5 separate regions of the Homo sapiens genome follow, and all the other regions are linked to region 1. The links are contacts of gene promoters, found by promoter capture Hi-C in blood cells and fetal thymus (Javierre and others, 2016). All regions are on one chromosome and are shown on one strand. Each heading gives the region's core, a stretch centred on a gene start or on the middle of the fragment in contact. The rest is flanking DNA. Distances are from core to core; before and after follow the strand shown.

The links. The method cuts DNA at HindIII sites, captures the fragments that hold promoters and counts their contacts. A CHiCAGO score of 5 or more calls a contact.
Region 2: a contact is called between a fragment that was not itself captured here and the fragment with the promoter of LAMA4 in region 1, in 1 of 17 cell types (total B cells). The highest score is 5.5, in total B cells.
Region 3: a contact is called between a fragment that was not itself captured here and the fragment with the promoter of LAMA4 in region 1, in 1 of 17 cell types (total B cells). The highest score is 5.0, in total B cells.
Region 4: a contact is called between a fragment that was not itself captured here and the fragment with the promoter of LAMA4 in region 1, in 6 of 17 cell types (total B cells, naive B cells, non-activated CD4 T cells and 3 more). The highest score is 14.1, in total B cells.
Region 5: a contact is called between a fragment that was not itself captured here and the fragment with the promoter of LAMA4 in region 1, in 8 of 17 cell types (total B cells, naive B cells, naive CD8 T cells and 5 more). The highest score is 14.5, in total B cells.

The regions. Positions count from the first base shown.
Region 1 is chr6:112,253,261-112,255,885 of GRCh38, reverse strand. LAMA4 (laminin subunit alpha 4) reads left to right here and starts at 1,319. Exons shown (of 39, transcript NM_001105206.3): 1 at 1,319-1,427; 2 at 1,595-1,930. The coding sequence starts at 1,736. The region is part of intron 2 of LAMA4-AS1 (LAMA4 antisense RNA 1); the gene reads right to left. The HindIII fragment of the contact is 4,256 bases long and covers 445-2,625 here.
Region 2 is chr6:114,099,371-114,101,995 of GRCh38, reverse strand. All of the region lies in intron 3 of HS3ST5 (heparan sulfate-glucosamine 3-sulfotransferase 5), which reads left to right. The region is part of intron 5 of HDAC2-AS2 (HDAC2 and HS3ST5 antisense RNA 2); the gene reads right to left. Among named protein-coding and RNA genes, the nearest start is that of HDAC2, 130 kb to the right of the region's middle. The HindIII fragment of the contact is 5,243 bases long and covers 1-2,625 here.
Region 3 is chr6:113,956,615-113,959,239 of GRCh38, reverse strand. It overlaps HDAC2 (histone deacetylase 2), which reads left to right. Exons shown (of 14, transcript NM_001527.4): 3 at 474-591; 4 at 2,547-2,621. Among named protein-coding and RNA genes, the nearest start is that of HDAC2-AS2, 12 kb to the left of the region's middle. The HindIII fragment of the contact is 288 bases long and covers 1,156-1,443 here.
Region 4 is chr6:113,938,309-113,940,933 of GRCh38, reverse strand. HDAC2 (histone deacetylase 2) reads left to right here. Exons shown (of 14, transcript NM_001527.4): 14 at 1-2,625. Among named protein-coding and RNA genes, the nearest start is that of HDAC2-AS2, 30 kb to the left of the region's middle. The HindIII fragment of the contact is 4,520 bases long and covers 1-2,625 here.
Region 5 is chr6:113,881,596-113,884,220 of GRCh38, reverse strand. It overlaps LOC124901382 (a long non-coding RNA gene), which reads right to left. Exons shown (of 3, transcript XR_007059716.1): 2 at 1-2,625. Among named protein-coding and RNA genes, the nearest start is that of MROCKI, 9.6 kb to the right of the region's middle. The HindIII fragment of the contact is 2,224 bases long and covers 212-2,435 here.

The DNA of each region.
Region 1 (2,625 bases), core at 70-2,569:
TTTTTTTGCACATGGGAGGCACTCAAAAAATAAAAGTGTCCATTTCCTTCACCTCTGAATTCATACTCTTTATTTTAAAGTTGCAGTGTCGTGTATACAGATGTAAAAGAGAGCTTTGGAATCAGTGAGGCCTGGATCCAAACCCCATCTCTGCTTTCCACCAGCTGTGCGACCTTGGGCAAATGTCCTAGTCTCTCTGAACCTCACTTTCTTCTTCTGTAAAAGGAAAATAATGGTACTACTTTGCAGGAATGCTGAGGTTTACAAATAGCATATGCCAAGTATCTGGCACATGTTAGGTGCAAAATAAATGGTTTTGCTTACACTTAGATAAAATGACTTTTGTTCTATGAAATGGAGCTAATGATTAGGTTTTATGGAAAGGCTTTATTTATTTATTTTATGATTAGGTTATACAAAAATGCTTTATTTCACCTGGAAGCTTACCTGGGTGTCATTTTATGGTTGTCTCATCTGACCATTTTTAAACCATGGTTGGATCTTGTGGAAATGTTTAGAGCTCGTTATGAAGCCAATGTAAACAAAGGTACCTATCAGCTGTTGCAGACACTATCCCATCCACAGGGGCACCCCTGACATAGCTGTAGCCCAACTTCACCCTGAAGTCTTGGAAAGGTTACATGATTCAGACAGATGTAGTAGGCATGAGATTACAGGCCAAGAGGAAGAGGCCGGGGCTGTAGGCAGTATACTTGACAGGCTCATACACTGCAAGCCTTGTTCCGGGCCCCTTACAAAGCACCTCTTTAGGATGAAAACAAGATGGTCTTTGTAAATAAAAGTTCATGCATTTGGGTAATGAAGTCATTTTCCAGCGCTGCAGTGAAAGATATTCTTCTCCCAAGCCCTCTGGGTGAGGACTGGAGGGAGGAAGAGGGGTGGCCAGTGAATCTGAAGAGAAGATATTAGCACAAAGAGTGCAACAGTCTATCCCCCAGAAAAAACCCGAGAAACCTTGCTCAAGAAAGTGGGCACCCTGACCCTCTGCCTTCAGAGATCATCTACCTTTGGTTCCTGCCCTGGAATCCCTTTTCCACCCACTTTCCTGCAAACTAGCGGGGGCCACATAAAATATCTATGTAAATATAGATAAGACATCCGGTACCTTGACTACATAAATAAGAGTGGTGAGGAAGCGTCACAAAAGCTGAATATTCTTCTGGAGCCCTTGGAGGGGCTCCAAACTGAGAGGGGAGGGAAGACCGCAGGGAAAGGCGGACCTCAGTGTCTGAAAAGCCAGCTTAGAGTGGGAGGGCCTGGGAGTAGAAGGTAAAAAGGGAGTGGTGAGAATGAATGTGAGAAGGAAGCCAGGACAGCGCAGTCCCCAGTCCCGAACGGCCAGGGAGAGGAGGTGGCCTAGCGCTGGCGGGGCTCACCCCAATCCGTCTGCCTTTTGATGCCGTACTGTAAGCTCCGTCCATCTGTAGGTTCTTGAGCCAGAACCTCTGCGGGAAGGAGAAAAAGTGAAAGAGGGAGAGGGAGAGGGAGAGAGAGGGGGAGAAGGGGAGAGAGAGAGAGGGAGAGAGAGGCTGGAACTCTCCCTTACTCTCGCACTTTCCCTTTATTTCCTAAGCTGCTGGTTGCGCAGCCACCTCGGGATACTGCACACGGAGAGGAGGGAAAATAAGCGAGGCACCGCCGCACCACGCGGGAGACCTACGGAGACCCACAGCGCCCGAGCCCTGGAAGAGCACTACTGGATGTCAGCGGAGAAATGGCTTTGAGCTCAGCCTGGCGCTCGGTTCTGCCTCTGTGGCTCCTCTGGAGCGCTGCCTGCTCCCGCGCCGCGTCCGGGGACGACAACGCTTTTCCTTTTGACATTGAAGGGAGCTCAGCGGTTGGCAGGCAAGACCCGCCTGAGACGAGCGAACCCCGCGTGGCTCTGGGACGCCTGCCGCCTGCGGCCGAGGTACAGTGTCCCTGCCATTGCCACCCTGCTGGGGCACCTGCGCCCCCGCGGGCTGTGCCACACTCGTCCTTCTCTCTCTCTCCGCCTCTTTCCTCTCCCCAGTGCCTTGAGAGTTTCACCTGGGCTAGGTCAGTTCGGAAACTTGAAATAAAGAGTTTTCCTTTGTAAGTTGCATTTGGATGTTGAGAGTTGAAAGTTGAGGCTTCGGAATGTGTCTGCTCAAAGGGGTGAGAGTGCATGTGTTGGTGCTCTGAGTTCATCCGCTAGACTCTCACCGGGGACTGCAGCAGCACATCGGTGACTTCTGCCACTTGCGTGTCCCAGTAGTCATTTTGTCAAGCCACGGCACTTAACGTGTGTGCCCTGTCACTGGCTTCCTGCTCCTCTGTGCTGTTAGGACAGTGGGAACACTACTGCAGGATCTTTTTGTCTCATATTAGACAAGAAGTCTTCTGCAGCAGGGAAGGTGAGGGGGTGAGTGAGAGTGGCTGGTCATGAAAGGAGCTGTTAGACAACTGCTGAGAGGGTATCTTAAGTAGAAACGAGCCATTGTATTCCAGAAACAAGATGTTTCCATTAAAATCAAGCCTCAGGATATGCTATTGATAATATGTTTATTCAAAGAGCTGCTGTTTGAATACCTTACAATAGCTTTTAAGTTGGAAACAAAACCAGAATGTAGAGGTCTGGTAAAG
Region 2 (2,625 bases), core at 33-2,532, 1.8 Mb before region 1:
TTTAGCTACTACTTATAAGTGAGAACATGTGGTATTTGGTTTTCTGTTCCTGAGTTGGTTTGCTTAGGATAATGACCTCCATGTCCATCCATGTTGCCACAAAGGACATGATCTCATTATTTTTTATAGCTGCATAGCATTCCATGGTGTACATGTACCACATTTTCTTTACCCAGTCTACCGTTGATGGGAATTTAGGTTGATTCCATGCCTTTACTATTGTGAATACTGCTGTGATGAACACACGTGTGCATGTGTCTTTATGGCAGAATAATTTCTATTCCTTTGGATATGTACCCAATAATGGGATTGCTGGGTCAAATGATAATTCTGTTTTAAGTTGTTTGAGAAATTGCCAAACTACTTTCCACAATGGCAGAACTGATTTACATTCCCATCAGCAGTATATAAGCACTCCCTTTTCTCTGCAGCCTCACTAGCATCATACACAGTTTTCTTTATTGAAAATATTTTTGGAGCTTTTGATATACCCACAGGCACTGTAAATCAACAAAAGGGGCACTCTGTCCTCAATTACATCATTCTTCAAAATTTTTTAACCACGTGGTGCTTTTTTAGGAGCATGTGAGGAGAATAACATCCCAGGAGAGTCCTACTCTAAAAAGATACTGCTGTTTGGGACAATATAGATATAATGCAATATCATATAGGAAGTTGTCTTTTTGTATATTTTTAAAACATGTTACTTTTGTGCTTTGGAGTTGCCCTAAATAAATATGTTGTAAACCTTTGTGAGTATCTGCTTATTCGGCTTAATAACCCTTTTGTGGCTTTTGAATAATGTAAGAATTTGATTCATTATTTAGAAATCTGAGTTGCTGCAGCAATGAACCAGATATTACATTTAATCGAGACTGCCAATACTGCACAGATTGCCAGCCTCACAGGACATCAGACCTAACTGAACTTTCCTGCTAGTTTTAGAAAAAAAGACAGAAAAATAATTCACTTCCAAAAGTTAGAGAAAACACTTTGCCAATTACTAGTGACCCTTGATGTGACTTTTAATTTATAGAAAGGCCCAGATTAATTGTTTTCAAACCAAAAGCTATGACTCTTAGCTAGCACTTTAATTTTACACAAATCTTCTCCTCCATCTTGACTGTGAGATCGTACCTATAGAGTGATAAGCCTTCTAATGATGCCTGGCATAGTGTCAGCTTTTGAAGCCATATACTGTGTATGTTTTGGAACTAAATATTTCTTCTTTCCATTGACTCTTGACCCCCTTAGAACAACTGTCACCTTCTTCAAATGCTTTCACTAAGTAAAAAGTCAATTGGCTGTAAGTGGTGATGAAGAAAATGTCGTGTGATTAATGCTACAGTTTAGGCTGTTGTGATTAGTCACAGGAAAAACAGTTAAACTTCCTCCCCCAAGAAACATGGTATGTTAACGGCAAATGGCCTGCCTCAAGCCCAATAGGAAGAAATAGTTGGGCAGTGTTAAAAGCTGCCTATTGATTTGTGCCCCGACTGAAAGCCATGTGCTGATGTAAATGAAAATGTGTCAAGAGTTGATATCGATTTTTTTTTTAAATCAGACCATCTCTGGGGAAATACTGCTAGCCATACTACTGCTCGTCTATGAGTGAAATAAGGTTCCTTTCCACAAGACTACACATGTCCAGACATCAAATTTTTCTCTTTAACCGAGGTGTGGTAGGATGCCTCTCTATCGTCTGCAATCTCTGCGTGGAGAACGTGACCCAGAGACTATAAAGATTGTCTTGATGAAAGACATGTATGTGGGGAAGGGTGTGAGCTCATGCCACCTATCTACACATTGGTCTGTTTGTGTATGGTTCGTAACACACATGTAGGCTTCAGCTAGGAATTGTCATCCTATGTCTCCTAGAATAAATCATTGTAGAAGAATAAATTTATTTTTAGAAAATTCTATCCAGAGAGAACCACAATATAGGATAAAAGGTAAAACATATTAGAATATGAACCATGAAGTTGGGGTCTTTCTTTTCCTTCAGACTGTAGGAAAACTAGCCACATTTTTTTCCATTTCTTAGGAGTTATTCCCTGAGCTGTACCTTATTCATAGACTGCAGTGCTTGTAAATATTGACTAACTATATATGAAAAGGCCAAGAGTCATAATAATCATGCAGCTTTGGGTCATATCTGTGGGGATTTCAGCTGCCTAGGTAAGGCTGCACTCCTGATTCAGCTGGGATAAAGCATGGACGCTAATATTAGGCTATTAGAATGGAAAATTAGTGTGGAAGAGGAGAGGGGTCATCACCTAGCAATATATGTGGATTATTTGGAATCAACTACTGGGATTAGAGAAAATCCTAATAAACTAATAAGGGATATGGTCTTTCCCTCCATGCTAGCTTAGAGAGCTGAATCCACTTAGTTTGATTTATTGGCCTTAGGTACAGACACATGATGAAAACTTCACTTTGCAAATTGATTAACTTTTTGTTGATTACTCAATGACTTTTGCAGTACTCTAAATTTTATGATCTGTGTGCCTTGTGCTCCAGATTAAAGGAAAAACAATGATCTGAAATAGACCTTAGGGAATAGGAATTACTATGATGAGACAATTTTATACTGAAAGTTCTGCATTAAAATTTAGGAATCTG
Region 3 (2,625 bases), core at 50-2,549, 1.7 Mb before region 1:
AGTCTTGTGGAAGAATTGTGTCATACGTGAAATTGAGCTCTTCGGAACAAGGAAGATTAGGATAGAAAAAAGGACGAGAGGTCGTGAACAAAGATTTAGAATTGAAAACTCTTGTAGTGAGTGATTTCATTGATGAAATCACTGGATGTTTTATCATGGAAAAGGAGAGAAAGTAGAGTTTATGAACATATGGATTTGACTTTTTACTCGAACTGTTTCCACTAAAATAAGGAGTGATTAAATCATAGTTGATATGCCTGTGTAATGCTTTTAAAGGAGTTTGAATTAGTTTTGAGATTGATTACTGTTTTCTAAAACACATATAAGTTTGGGTTAGTTTTGGAATTTATATATTTTGTTCTGGTAGACTTGGTTCTTTTGAGGGGACCGATAGGGGAATTTGTATATTTGTTTGATAATACTGATATAACCGGTTGTAATTCCACAGTTCTGACATTTATTTCTCTTCACAGAGGCCCCATAAAGCCACTGCCGAAGAAATGACAAAATATCACAGTGATGAGTATATCAAATTTCTACGGTCAATAAGACCAGATAACATGTCTGAGTATAGTAAGCAGATGCAGAGATGTACGTTTCTAAGTAAAAAGTAGTTTTGCTTTGATAAATGTAAATTAGTATTTTTAGGAGCTTAGAATGATCTAAATCTGAATATTTTTCCTGTTGGTCTAATATGTTACAGTTATTTACTGATTTGAAAAGTCATTTTAACACTACTAAAGCTACTTAAGAAAAAAGTAAACCTATCTGAAGCTTATTGGTTTGCAAAACTGCTGTTTGGGTATTCTTCTACTCCTAGTTTGCTCCCCTGATAACTTTGGGTTAATACATATTGGTAGGGAGACCTCACTCCCTTACTCCCTCGCTTCAAAAAAACAAAAACAAGATTACACTTTGATTAGCCTTAGCTTGGCATGTACATATCTCTTGTCTTGTCTTTGTGTACTTCAGTTAACCTGGACTATAATACACATCTCTTTTTCTTTGTTAAGATATTAGTGAAGCTTTTGATTCTACGTAATGTTCTCTTGTACAGGTTAAAAGTATTTTATTTTTAGAGATTAGTAACAAATTGGCTTGAAGGTAGAATGCAAAAGTCAACCTAAAATTATTGGAACAGTATCTTTTAAAGCTTGATACCAAAGTTCATTCTCATTAGTGTTTGTATTGACTGACTTCAGTGATGATTATACTAAATTAGTGTAGGTGCTAGACATCTCATATTTACAACCTCATACACATTTCTGCCATATCTTGTTTGATTTGTTATAATGCTACAATGTAACTAGAACATGTAGTATTTAATTTTTTTTTTTTCAATGAAGATTCCAACTTAGATGCAAAAGAGGCATGAGTAGCCCTTGGGCAAACAACATAACAGGATTGATTTAAAACCCACATAATAATGAGTTCTATTAAGCTTATGATCCTGGCCAGGTGTGGTGGCTCACGCCTGTAATCCCAGCACTTTGGGAGGCGGAGGTGAGTGGATTACCTGAGGTCAGGAGTTCGAAACCAGCCTGGCCAACATGGCAAAACCCTGTCTCTATTAAAAAAGTACAGAAAATTAGCTGGGTGTGGTGGTGCGCGCCTGTAATCCCACTACTCTGTAGGCTGAGACAGGAGAATTGCTTGCTTGAGCCCCAGAGGTGGAGGTTGCAGTGAGCCAAGCTCACGCCATTGCACTCCAGCCTGGGCGACAGAGTGAGACTCTGTCTCCAAAAAAAAAAAAAGATTATGATCTCTCTGTGCAGTAAGAAACTAAAATTCATTTCTTATAGTGCTTGTGACTTAAGGGTATACAAAGATATTAATATACAAAACAAGGACCCTTATTCTTGAAGAGGTTACAATTCAAGGGCATAGGGAAAGACTAAGAAAGGGTTACATACATCTGCCATATCCTTTCATTCTCTCAGTGCTAAGGAACTAAATGTGTGATCGTTTATCTGTAAATGTTTTCCTTGTTGTCTTTAGTATCCTATGTTTTGGCTCCCATGAACCTAGTTAATTCTTAGCAACTTTCAAGATCAAGATTAGCCATGGGAATAGGCAACCAGCTGTTACATCTTTTTGGTTTAGTAACTTACTGACATGCATTTCAAAGTTACAGATATTATAGGTATTTAAGGAGTTTCAAAGAAAGTAAATTATAAAGCAATTGAAGTTGCTTTTAGAATGTTAACTTATTGTAATATTAAGGGGAAAGGCCTAGAAAATTTAAGCCTGTGTTTTAATTAAATAAGAATTGTTGTACTTAGACAACTATTGAGTTCTTGTTAATAGACAGAAATATTCCACAGATAATCCTGATAAGATTTGATGATCTTTCACAGATAACACTTTAATTACCTTGGATAAAACAATAAATATATTTTAAAGTTGGAAACTTTATATTATACTGTGAAGTGTATGTTTGATGATTGCATCAAGCAAAAAAGTATTTGTGGGAAATAGTTTTTGTAAGAAAAGGCTTTCATTAATTTGCAGAATGTGTTGAAATTAATGAAATCCATCTTCCACAGTTAATGTTGGAGAAGATTGTCCAGTGTTTGATGGACTCTTTGAGTTTTGTCAGCTCTCAACTGGCGGTTCAGTTGGTAA
Region 4 (2,625 bases), core at 45-2,544, 1.7 Mb before region 1:
ATGGCTTTTTCGTTTTTGTTTTTCTTGGCAAGTTTTATTGTGAGTTTTTCTAATTATGAAGCAAAATTTCTTTTCTCCACCATGCTTTATGTGATAGTATTTAAAATTGATGTGAGTTATTATGTCAAAAAAACTGATCTATTAAAGAAGTAATTGGCCTTTCTGAGCTGATTTTTCCATCTTTTGTAATTATCTTTATTAAAAAATTGTACTTGGATTATCTTTTGTCTGTTTATTACTACAATATGAAGTCTTGTTTCAGTGGCTAATGACATCATTTCTGTAGACTTACAATACACTCTAGGTGAAAGATAATGATTACAGCTTGAAAGATAACTATTTGCTGTTTCTTTGGGAAGAGTATTTATAGTAATTATTACTTATCTTTGCAATAGAAATTCTACCACCTTGCCCTCTATAGCTTAGCCAGTTAGTATCAGTGAAGATTAACATCCCATTACAATTTATGAAATAATACAGACTCTGCAATTGAGATGTAGGAGTTCTTTGAGTTGACCCAAAGATTCTCAAAATTGAAATGGAAATTCTGAATTGAAAGAAGAAACTGACCAGAACTTGTATTGACCAGACTTGCCTATAGTATATTGCTGGTTTAAAATGGAACCTGCAGACAAAACCTGTTTCTTTTACTGCATTTACATGGCATCCAGGTTCCATTATTATTTACGTGACATCCAGGTTTCTAACTCAAGGAAATAAACACAACTGATTTATCATTCAGCAACTACTTATTGTGTGTCTGCCCATTTTAAGACTGTAGGAGTGTAACTGAATATAATGGAAAAATGCTTTCACTCAGAGCTTACACTCAGAGCTTACATTCTAGTAGCAGGAAGCAGACAAATGGGGGTAACTCCTGCTACTAAGATGTGCAAAGAAGACAAAACATTTTAGGAACTTGCCAAAATCAGTGAAATCTCCCTTTTTGTCAGGCCCACATTGATTCTTTTGAGATTAAAAATTACAGAATGCCAGAAGATAATTCAGTCAAAAGTATTTCTCTTCAGTGCAGTAAAATATTAAAAGAAAAAATATTTCTCTACAAGCCTCTTAAATGTTTCAGACATTCACAATAGCACCTAGACTTTTGTAATGAACAGCTGTGCACCCACCCCGACTTAACAAATATTTTACTTTTGCTATATTTGCTTCGGTGTTTTTTTCTTAAAATACACCGAAATTGAAGCTCTCTTTGTGTACTTTGTCGTTTGTAATCCTCCCTCCCTCCCAGCCTTAAGAAGTAATCACCATTGTGATTATTTTATCCATGTTTTTGTGAATATTTTACCCATGTTTTTGTACTTTTGCTACATATTTGTTATCAATCTGTAAACCTTTATGACATTAGGAACTAAGAAACTTAGTCCCTTCGTTAGGGGGATAATGAAATGTATTTAGTGTTTGTGAAACATAGATGGTATGTATTTGGACAATTCTGTAACTTTGCTTTTTTTATTTTTATTTTTCCATAGCTTATTGGGGAACAGGTGGTGTTTGGTTACATGATTAAGTTCTTTAGTGGTGATTTGTGGGATTTTGGTGGACCCATCACCCAAGCAGTGTACACTGCACCCTATTTGTAATCTTTTATCCCTCGCCCCCCTCCCACCATGCCTCCCGTCTACCATGATGATCCTGTTTTAAATAAGAAAATACCATTTCGCAGGCTCCAGATGTTCTGGCATCCTCCCTGTGGATTTCCCAGTGCCTGCAGCTCACAGGACAACAGGGGCTGTGGTAGAGTCACCTATGAGATCCTGGAGTAGTGGATGGAGGAGATGGAACAGTGAAGACGGAAACTGAGCTCAGTATCCGGGTGCCAGGAGACAAAGGCCCTTTGCTTTTTTTCATTTAATATTCTGATCTACCCCTGTTGACACATGTTAAGTATAGTTCATTTTGACTGCTATGTATTATGTTCCATTGTGTGAACATACTGAAATTGTACACTTCAATACTATACTGGATCTCCTTGGGTGTATTTAAGAGGTTTTGTTTTTCTAAGTAGTTGGTTATATACAACTAAAACCTCAAGAGAACTATCTAAAGCAATTTCAGCAAGGTGATTTGGTACAGCATTAATAAACAGAAATCAGTAACACTTAGTGACCAAGTCTGTTGGAAGAACAAAGACCCCCATTTGTAATAACAAAATTTTTAGAAATAATATGTAAAGAAGCTATGGTTCTTGTGTCTAGTAAGGTCAATGTAACATAGTAAGATGTCAGAATACCCTAATACTTTAAAAAATTCATATAGGATAAAAATGATATTTGAAATTGGCAAGGAAAGACATTATTTTGTAAGTGGAATTGGGACAACAACTGGTAACCAAATGGAAAACCCAGTTTTCTGCCCTCCACTAGAAGATTTAAATAGGAAAAGATAAAACTACCAAAAACCTAAACTCTTAAAGCAAATGGATTGAAGAAGGCCTAAGTGTGACACCAAACTCAACTATAAAAGATATATTTGATAACAAAAAAAAAATTAGTTCAGTGGACCAACAAAAACTTAGAAGACAAGTCAAGAAAAATGACAAAAGACAGAGTGGGAGGCAGATTTGTAACTCATCCAGGTCAAAAGGCTCATATCTAAAGATAG
Region 5 (2,625 bases), core at 74-2,573, 1.6 Mb before region 1:
ATCAGTGATGTGGACACTGCCCAAATAGTAATCAGCAAAGAAATCTTATAAAATTACCAACAGATTACTGCTTCAGCCTGCCAGCACTTTCAGTGCCAGCCAGCCTGTTTTTGTTTTTCTTTGTTTGTTTTCCACTGCAATAGGTTGCAATTTAGAGTAAGTCTTTGTGGACTATGAATGAAAATAGAGTTTCACACTCAATTGATAAGCTTTGACAAATGAAAAAACACATACATGGTATATTTGGGACAATAAACAGGAACCTAGAAAACTAGGGATTCATCTCTCCCTTTCCTTTACCTTAATAATATGAGACAAATGTAATAAAACTCTGTCCTACCCCCATCATAATGCTGTACATGTAAGGAATGCCAAAGAAGTATATGATATTTCTTGCCCTTCATGGTGGATAAATGTCAGAAATTGTATCACAATGACCATGGTACAAATAATTCACCAGGACAGAAAAGAAAAAGAGGTTAAAAGTTTCTATTTGCATATATTTCAATGCATTTTGAAGTCCAAAGGATACAAGTTACATAACATATAAGTTAGATGCATTTCCGCAAATGCAAAAATAAATATCTTAGTGCTACCTCTGCTTGCTGTTGCTCACATTCTCAATTTTCCCCAGTGTCTCCTTCAGCTATCGCTCAATGACTTCTCTAAGTTACATTTTATAGATTCCTCAAAGAATCGTTGCTTCTGTGAGGTTACCTAAACCAGGATCCCATAAAATTAAGACAATGAGACAGGAACTGCTGAGAGCACCGCAGGTGGCAGAGCAGCTCTCAAATCACCAGAGGTTGATGCCACCAAATGGCTCCAGGCCTGAGCTTCTTCCACGTGCTCCTACCTACTTTCTACCTCAAGGGAACTGTTCATTTTTTAAAAAAACAGGTTTACTGCTATTGCTATCCAAACAGCTATGCACTATTTTTTCTACTCTATTCTATGTCCTTCCTCTGGATGCATTTTGAAATTCTGTTTTGAAAGCATTTAGATATTTGGAGAGCATAAAGTTTTTAAGATTTAAATCAGTTTTGTCTTCACTAGTGATTATTTCCTTTTATTTTTAATTGACATAATAATTGTACATACTTATGGGGTACCATGTGATATTTTGACACACCTACACACTGTGTAGGGATCGAATCAGGGTAAATAGCAAATTCATCACCTCAAAACTTTATTTCTTTGTGTTGGGAGCATTCAAAATCCACTCTTGTAGGTTTTGAATATAAATTATTCACAAAAATTGAAAGTAAATTTTTGTTAGTTATAGTCATTCTATAGTGCCATAGAACACTAAGATTTATTCCTCCTATCTAGCAGTAACTTAGTATTTGCTAATCAACCTCTGGCTAGCTCCCTACCACCCCACCCCTAACACACACAACTTTCCCAGCCTCTAGGAGCCACTATTCTACTCTCTACTTCCATGAGGTCAACTTTTTTGCCTTCCATAAATGAGTGAGAACATGCAGTATTTGTCTCTCTATGCCTGGATTATTTCACTTAATATAATATCCTCCAAGGTTCTCATTTTAACCAGACAACATGTCCTGGTATAGAATGTGAATTTAGATTTAGCAGGTCAACTTTTATTTCAACACTGTGGAGTTTGGAAAGCACCCAAGAAGTCAACAAGAAATCAAACATTTTAAGAAGCCTGGGGCAAGTGCATTTAAGTCCATTTTCCCATCTATCACCAGGGCACTGGGCGAGGCCACACAGGCTCTGTCCTGCACAACTTCAAGGAACATGCAAAGAGGCAGCCTGTGTATAACATGACGAAGGATGGACAAATTAACTGATCTTCAAATCCCTTTGAACTGAAATTAAATCATTCTGACAATGGATACTCCAGTATTTCTCTGTATCTTCTTCACATTTGCTTTTTAAAATGTCATTTTTTAACATATATTGTTTTAATAACTGTTCTGGATTAAATTTGGTTTAGAAATAATTTTCAGTTTGTTTGTGTGCTGCTTTATGTAATAAAATGAGATAGTAAATATTTAAAATGTTAATGAGTTTTAAAACATTATAAACCTCAGGAAAATCAAAATCTAGTAACTCATCTGTCAGGCCATAGGCACGGTGATTTAAATTGAGATCACTAACAAATGTAAATGGATTATTAGATGTCAAATACTTTTACTTTCCATTGTAATTCAAATTGAATGTGGGTAAGGCTTAAACATCACCATAAACACTATTTGCTCTAGAGTGAACCTCCTTATAAGAATTACTGGTCTTGGAACTCAACCAAGGGAACTTAGTTACTGAATTGCTATCAGGAGACCCAGGGTGAAGTGATTCTCCCTGTTAAGTGACTCTAATAGTGGTAGAATCCAGCTCTTTTGTTTTAGGCAGTAGTATATTTATGTCAAATCATTATACTTCATATCCAAAAAAGATGCAGGGAAGCTTCCAAGTTTACTAATGCCATCTTGACTGACATTGAGTAAGTTCTCCTTTCTTTGCAATTTTCAGCTCAATAGTATCTTACAGCGCAATGTGCCAGGAAGTCTACCAACTTGAAACTAAGCCTTTCCTGCTATAAATTAAACGTGTTTCCTCCTTGGTACAAACCAAATGCTTAATTATCTCTCTCCTCTT